Regions from separate parts of the Homo sapiens genome. Here region 2 is linked to region 1. The links are contacts of gene promoters, found by promoter capture Hi-C in human tissues and cell types (Jung and others, 2019). All regions are on one chromosome and are shown on one strand. The core of a region is centred on a gene start or on the middle of the fragment in contact, and the rest is flanking DNA. Distances in the headings are between cores, read along the strand shown. Region 1 holds the start of TMEM203 (transmembrane protein 203). Region 2 holds the start of PNPLA7 (patatin like domain 7, lysophospholipase).

Region 1 (5,176 bases), core at 1,894-4,393:
GTGTAGTGGTGTGATCACAGCTCACTGCAGCTTTAACCTCCCAAGTTCAAGAGCTCCTCCCGCCTCAGCCTCTGGAGTAACTGTGATCACAGGCATGAGCCACTGCACCAGTTCACTTTGAATTTTCTGTCTCATGATGCTGCCCAGTCTGGTCTTGAACTCCTGGGCTCAAGCGATCCTCCCACCTCGGCCTCCCAAATTGCTGGGATTACAGGCATGAGCCACTGTGCCCGGCAAACGTCTCTCATAAAAAACTCCTTCTTTTTAACTCTTTAGCCTTTTCACAGCCAGATGTGGTTTTTTGTTTGTTTGTTTTGTTTTTTGTCTTTTTTTTGTTTTTGAGACGGAGTCTCGCTCTGTCGCCCAGGCTGGAGTGCAGTGGCGCGATCTCGGCTCACTGCAAGTTCCGCCTCCCGGGTTCACGCCATTCTCCTGCCTCAGCCTCCCGAGTAGCTGGGACTACAGGTGCCCGCCACCACATCCGGCTAGTTTTTTGTATTTTTAGTAGAGACGAGGTTTCACACCGTGTTAGCCAGGATGGTCTCGATCTCCTGACCTCGTGATCTGCCTGCCTCGGCCTCCCAAAGTGCTAGGATTACAGGTGTGAGCCACAGTGCCCGGCTCTTTTTCTTTTTTTTTTTTTTTTTGACAGAGTCTAGCTCTGTCACCAGTCTGGAGTGCAGTGGCGCAATCTCAGCTCACTGCAACTTCCGACTCCCTGGTCTAAGTGATTCTCCTGCCTCAGCCTCCCGAGTAGCTGGGATTACAGGCACGCACCACTGCGCCGTGCCCAGCTAATTGTTGTAATTTTAGTAGAGACGGGTTTCACCATGTTGGCCAGGCTGGTCTCGAACTCCTGACCTCGTGATTCGCCCGCCTCGGCCTCCCAAAGTGCTGAGATTACAGGCGTGAGCCACCGCAGCCGGCCCGCACTCAAGACATTCTTAAAAGATGCTCTCCACTCACTCTCTCAGTTGCTGATCTCCTGTAATCTGGCTTCTCTCCCCATGAGCCACTGAAGCTGCTCTTCCTGGTATCACCAACAATCCCTTTGCCAAGAAATCCCATGGATCCCTCTCAGGCTTTATCTGATTTGACTTCTGTGCAGCTTTACATGCCAGAGCCCTTCCTGGAACACTCACTCCCCCAGTCCTCTCCTTGGGGTGCTGCACCCTCTCTTCTAGCTGCTTGGTCACTCTCCTGCCCTCCTGGGCTCTAACGTTCTGGGCAGCCTGTCCTGTGGGGAGAGAGGAGCTTCCTCTTCTCACACTTCTGTATTGTGGCTACCTCAACACCTATCTCCGCCCCAGGATCTTCCTTGGAGCGCTAGTCCTACTGCACTTCTCCACTTCAATGTCTCCAGGTTCCCTTCCTGCACAGCCCCCTACTCCCACCGTGTTCTCTGATTTCTGTGGATGGAACCACCATCCATCTTGGTTCCAGAGCCCACATCCCTGTCTCGATTCTGCTTGACCTATTGGGTCCGTTCCATGTCCCGGGGACTCTCTCTTCCTGACACCACTGCAATGTGTCCACTTCTATCTTCTGCCACCACTTCAGCTCAGATCGGTAGCATCTGCTGCCTGTCCTGTGCATCTCATGGCATTATTCCTGCTGTCCTGCAGACCAGTGCGGTTTTGCTAGCTTAGGAACATGACTGTGTCACCCCTACAGTTCCGACAACCCTTCATTTCAAGCCCATCTGCCTTGCTGTGGTTACTCAGGCTCTTTGGACTGGGCCTGGCTTCCTGCCTCTCTTCTCCTCCCCTCTTGCCCCAGTGTACTCCTCAGCTTGGCCACCCTGAGCTGCTTTCCACTTTTCACACAAACCAAATCATCTTTTTCCTCTGCGCTGACTGCTCCTTCTTCCTCGGTGCCTGACTAGCCCTCACGCATCCTTCCGTGACTCAGCTTACACTCTTTTCTTCCAGAAACCTCTGCCTGGGCCCCAAGGTTGGGTGAGATAAGGCTCGATGCCCCTTATCAGTGCTCCTGTGACATATGCTACTTTCCCCAGCAGCAGGTGTTTGCTGGCACTGTCATTGCCCGTTAGCTGCTTCTGCTACAGTGTGAACTCTGCCAGGATGGAAATATGGCTGCTGGGTTCACAGCTGGATCCCCAGCACCAGACTGTGCCAAGAATAGAATATGTGCTTAAAAGATGGTCAGAGAATTCAGCAACGTTCCCTGAGGGTCATACAGTCTAGAAATACACACAAGACCCAGACTAGATGCACATATAGATAGCCCTGGAAAAATAAGAAAGGTTAAAACGGATAATAAGGCTATTTGGTGGCTACGACGAGTTTATTAGAGAGGGCAACCGGAGCCCCCAGCCCCACTCACGGACGTTCTCTCAAATCCACCTCTGAAGGTGCATGAGATAAAGGAGAGCTATTTACTGCACCTAGACGCCAGGCAATGAAAACGGGGTGAGGGTCGAGGGCAGGGATCTGAGGAGCCACATCAGGCCAGCCTTACCTTCATGTTGTCAGGGGGGTCTCCTTGGCCTGTAGTTGCACAAACAAATATCACCAGGGGCTCGTTAATCAGATTCACCTCAACAAAAAGACACACACACGTAAGACCTCCGGCTGTAAGGACCGGGCGTCCTTCCCAAAACTTGACCCCCTTCTCCTTTACTCAGGCTGACAGGGCAGAGGGATTTATGTGAGCAGCCAGACCGTCTTCTCTTTCAGGTTCCAACCTCCTCCAGGTGCTAAACTGAACTCCCCTTCCCAAACCTCCTTCCCTAAATCCGCCATAAGGGAAAGACCCGCTCTCAGAGAAAATGCGACGCCTTTTGGGTCGATGACCCCGCGAGGCGGGCACGCCAGGCCTGCTCGTCCCCCACGCCGAGGCCCTAGCGAGCCCTCACCACCGGGTAGGAGTCCAGGGCCTGCACCCGGCAGCCAAGCCGCCGGCGCCGGGCCTCGCGACCCAGTCTCTCCGACACATCCTGAGCCGTGCCTGTCTGGCTGCCGAAGAGCACCAGAAGCTGCGGGCTCGGCATCGGGGTGCGCCCGGTGGTCTGGTCTGAGACTAAAAACTAGAAGGCAGTTCCCGCCGGCCGGGTTGCAGGGACCGCTCCGCCTTCCGCCTTCCGCCGTCGACCGGAAGTGACGCACTAGGGACGCGCCCTGTGGGGGCATGGCGTCCGATCGAGGCGGGCGTTCACGGGCGGCCAGGGTTGAGTCCCGGGTCGGGGCCGGGGGATTGCCGGCGCATCAGGGCCGAGGGCTGGGGCTGGCGGGGCCGCTCGCTGCCTCTCGCTCGCAGCAGCGGCGGCAGGCGCGGGCGAGGGCCACGGGGAGAGGAGACGCAGCCCCGCGGGTGGCACGCTCGGCCGGGCCCCGGCCCGCGCTCAACGGGCGCGATGCTCTTCTCGCTCCGGGAGCTGGTGCAGTGGCTAGGCTTCGCCACCTTCGAGATCTTCGTGCACCTGCTGGCCCTGTTGGTGTTCTCTGTGCTGCTGGCACTGCGTGTGGATGGCCTGGTCCCGGGCCTCTCCTGGTGGAACGTGTTCGTGCCTTTCTTCGCCGCTGACGGGCTCAGCACCTACTTCACCACCATCGTGTCCGTGCGCCTCTTCCAGGATGGAGAGAAGCGGCTGGCGGTGCTCCGCCTTTTCTGGGTACTTACGGTCCTGAGTCTCAAGTTCGTCTTCGAGATGCTGTTGTGCCAGAAGCTGGCGGAGCAGACTCGGGAGCTCTGGTTCGGCCTCATTACGTCCCCGCTCTTCATTCTCCTGCAGCTGCTCATGATCCGCGCCTGTCGGGTCAACTAGCCTCACCGAGGTGCCGGAGAGGGAGCGCTGGACAACTAGAATGTTGACCTCGAGCCGAGGCCCTACTTGCAGCGCACCGGAGGAGAGGCTCTCTAGTCTGAAGGCACCGCCGGCTTGCGCCGAGCTGAGTGCCGGGTTTCCCTATTCCAATCCTGTTTGAAATGGTTTCTTCAGCAGGGCTTAAAAGAGCAGCCTTCATCCTGAAAATGTATTTCCTTTTGTTTAATGCTTTGAGTAGATAATCCTGAATTGAGGTCATGAGGAGGCCCCCCAGGCCAGACAGTCCTGAACCCCTCTGACACTTGGAAACTGAATATAAGTAAAATGTCCAGGTGGACTCTGAGTATTTCCTGTGGATCCTGGGAAAGTACTGTTGCACAAAGGCTGCAAAGCTGGACTCAGGAATGTCCTCCAACCAGCAGCGCTGACCTAAGAGCTCCCTGTGCCGTCTATCCAGACCAGACTTCGGTAGATGCCTTTGTTAGATCTATCACATGTAAACGAGCTTGTATCTCCTTCCCTGTGCCACGAGAGAGATTGGCTTTTTATTCCAGTCTAGGCAGAGACAGAAGAATGTTGAATAAGAGCACGATTAGAGTCCTGTCTGGTTATCTGTTGCCCAAGAAAAGAACTCTGCTGTCCAGGCACTGCTTGGCTTACTATCCCAGCAAAGACTGCAGTTTTGTGGACTTTTGACCACCTTGGGCTGGCACTCTTAGCACACCTGAGACAGATTTAAGCCTCCCTAAGAGACTGAAGAGAGGAACAGGTGTCAGATACTCATAGGCACTGAGATCTACAAATGGGAAGCTTGTGAGTGGCCCATCTTTGTTGGCCTACGAACTTTGGTTTGATGCCAGTCAGGTGCCACATGAGAACCTTTGCTGAGATGCAAATAAAGTAAGAGAATGTTTTCCTGAAATGAATAGTGGTTGCCTGTAACCCTCAAGGGTTAAATAGGATGAATATTGAGATACTCTCTGCTACGTGGTGTAGCTGGTTACAGAGCTGCGGTTTTAAATGGATTGAAACCTGTGGCTAGAGCTTAGTGGATGGTGGTGGTGGGAATCACTTGTTCTGGAGAATCCCTCCTTCCTGCTCTAGGAGGTGGGTAACTCAGGCACCCCCCCCCCCACCCTGTATGAAGACAACAATCTGGGCTCATGTTAAAGACCCATTGAATAGTTTGTGACCCCAGAGCCCATGACTTCTTGCCAGAGTGTGGTCTTTGTGGGCCTTGTTGGCACTCTGTAGAGCAGGGATCAGCAAACAATGTCCTAAGGCCTGTTTTTGTATGACCCTTGAGCTGAGGATGGTTTTTACACCCCTAAATGATTAAAAGCAAAAGCAGGCCAGGCGTGGTGGCTCACGCCTGTAATCCCAGCACTT
Region 2 (2,500 bases), core at 1-2,500, 340 kb before region 1:
CTGGCGGATGAGTGATCGCTCTCAGCGCGGTGGTCCCTGGCGTCTCCACTGCCCGCCACTGCCTGTGTTCGTCCGCCAGGTGGCCGGCGGTTTCCCGGGAGCCCAGTCCCCCTGAGGCCGTGAGGTGGCGTCGGGAGGTCGGGGAGGACGCGGGCCCTGGACTCGAGACGGCCGCCGCGTTGACGCCGCGACCCTGCCTTTCTTACCCCTCCGCCGGGCGCGGCTCCTCTGGGCGGAGCCGGCAACCGCGCGGGGAAAGCCCGGGACCTGCAGCCGGGAGGGCCCGGGCTGTCTGTGCTCCCCCGCAGGCCGGGCAGTGGTGTGGGGGGACTCGAGCCCTCGCGGTGCCCAAATTAATCAATAATCTTGGACCCAGCACGTCCGGCTTGCGCACTGAGCCCTCCTGCCCGGTCACCCTCGCAGGCGACCTCTCACCCCACGCGGAAGTCGCCCCCCAGCCGCACCCTCACAATCCGGATCCACCCCCTCCCCAGCTGCACCCCGTCCCCAGCGGCACCCCCACAGCCCAGATCCATCCCCTCTCCAGCTGCACGCCCTTCCCCAGCGGTACCCCCACACCCCAGATCCATCCCCTCCCCAGCTGCACCCCCTCCCCAGCGGCACCCCCACGCCCCAGATCCACCCCCTCCCCAGCTGCACCCCCTCCCCAGCGGCACCCCCACGCCCCAGATCCACCCCCTCCCCAGCTGCACCCCCTCCCCAGCGGCACCCCCACACCCCAGATCCACCCCCTCCCCAGCTGCACCCCCTCCCTAGCGGTACCCCCACTCGCCGGATCCACGCGCTCCCCAGCTGCACCCTCTCCCCAGCAGTACCCCCACACCCCAGATCCACCCCCTCCCCAGCTGCACCCACTCCCCAGCGGTACCCCTACACGCCGGATCCACCCCCTCCCCAGCTGCACCCACTCCCCAGCGGCACCCCCACACCCCAGATCCACCCCCTCCCCAGCTGCACCCACTCCCCAGCGGTACCCCTACACGCCGGATCCACCCCCTCCCCAGCTGCACCCTCCTCCCCAGCTGCATCCCCACACCCCGGATCCACGCCCCGCCAGCGTCACCTCCCCTCCAGCCGTGCTTCTCCAGAAGGCAGCGCTGCCCCCATCCCCGCCGCGCTGGGCCTGGCTCCTCTTGACCTGCTTGGATACGCCCCATCTGGCTGCTGTTCTGGGTTCCGGGACAGCCACGTGAGGGCTGTTTACAGAGGGAAGGAGGTGGCTCCTAGCAGATGACAGACACTTCTCAAAAGACAGCTTTTCTTCCTGGAGAACAGACTTTTTCAGCAGGATTTTCCTTTCAGTGAAACATAATTTGACTTGAAAGGAACCCAGGGAAAAGTGTCCAGGTGTGAGCATGAGCGGGTAGAGGTGTGCCCTTGTTTGCTTCAGGCTGTCTGCTTTTCGCCCCTGACTGTTTTTTCTGTTTCTGGCCATGGAGGAAGAGAAAGATGACAGCCCACAGGTATGTAACTCGGGGGACCAGATGCCTGGATTTCCCAGTTGGGGGGCATTTCTGGACCCAGAGAAGGGTCCTCTTGGCGTCTGCTCTGCCGCGCTCTTTGGCCCCGTGGCTTCTTGGCGCCTGAGGACTGTGGGAGTGGTGGATCTGGCCCCTCTCTGCTGCCTGTCACAGCTGCCAGCACTTGTTAGACGCGCCTGTCACAGCAGACAGCCAGTGGTGGCCCATGGGCATTGTTCACAGCGAGGGCAGCCAGCGGTGGCCCATGGGCATTGCCTGAGGCCTTGTCTTTTCTTCCCCTAAGGTCACAGTTGCTACTTCCAGTTCCTTTAGGACTTTGCCTGATGGTTTTGCTTAGAACCTTTTTCTGTGTTTTTTTTTTTCCCAAGACGGAGTCTCGCTCTGTCGCCCAGGCTGGTGTGCAATGGTGTGATCTTGGCTCACAGCAACCTCCGCCTCCTGGGTTCAGGCAATTCTGCCTCAGCCTCCCGGGTAGCTGGGACTACAGGCACCACGCCCGGCTAATTTTTGTATTCTTAGTAGAAACGGGGTTTCGCCATGTTGGCCAGGCTGGTCTTGAACTTTTTTTTTTTTTTTTTTTGAGACGGAGTCTTGCTCTGTCGCCCAAGCTGGATTGCAGTGGCACGATCTCAACTCACTGCAAGCTCTGCCTCCCAGGTTCACGCCATTCTCCTGCCTCGGCCTCCCAAGTAGCTGGGACTACAGGCGCCCACCACCACGCCCGGCTAATATTTTTTTGTATTTTCAGTAGAGACGGTGTTTCACTGTGTTAGCCAGGATGGTCTCGATTTCCTGACCTCGTGATCCGCCCGCCTTGGCCTCCCAAAGTGCAGGGATTACAGGCATGAGCCACCGTGCCCGGCCTAGTCTTGAACTCTTGACCTCATGATCTGCCCGCCTCGGCCTCCCAAAGTGCTGGGATTACAGGCGTGAGACACTGTGCCCAGCCCTAGAATCTTTTTCTTAGTCAAACATCTGTAGCCACATGGCAAAGGCCT

What was found. The method cuts DNA at HindIII sites, captures the fragments that hold promoters and counts their contacts. A contact is called where the count stands out against the background at its distance.
Region 2: the fragment with the promoter of PNPLA7 here is called in contact with the fragment with the promoter of TMEM203 in region 1 in 2 of the 25 tissues and cell types used here (dorsolateral prefrontal cortex and pancreas).

The regions. Positions count from the first base shown.
Region 1 is chr9:137,203,615-137,208,790 of GRCh38, reverse strand. TMEM203 (transmembrane protein 203) reads left to right here and starts at 3,143. Exons shown (of 1, transcript NM_053045.2): 1 at 3,143-4,709. The coding sequence starts at 3,377. The coding sequence ends at 3,787. NDOR1 (NADPH dependent diflavin oxidoreductase 1) reads right to left here and starts at 3,091. Exons shown (of 14, transcript NM_014434.4): 1 at 2,879-3,091; 2 at 2,482-2,559. The coding sequence starts at 3,013. RefSeq lists a silencer at 3,128-3,387. The HindIII fragment of the contact is 14,043 bases long and covers 1-5,176 here.
Region 2 is chr9:137,549,152-137,551,651 of GRCh38, reverse strand. PNPLA7 (patatin like domain 7, lysophospholipase) reads left to right here and starts at 1,250. Exons shown (of 35, transcript NM_001098537.3): 1 at 1,250-1,484. The coding sequence starts at 1,455. RefSeq lists a silencer at 1-451 and an enhancer at 1,640-2,141. The HindIII fragment of the contact is 18,703 bases long and covers 1-2,500 here.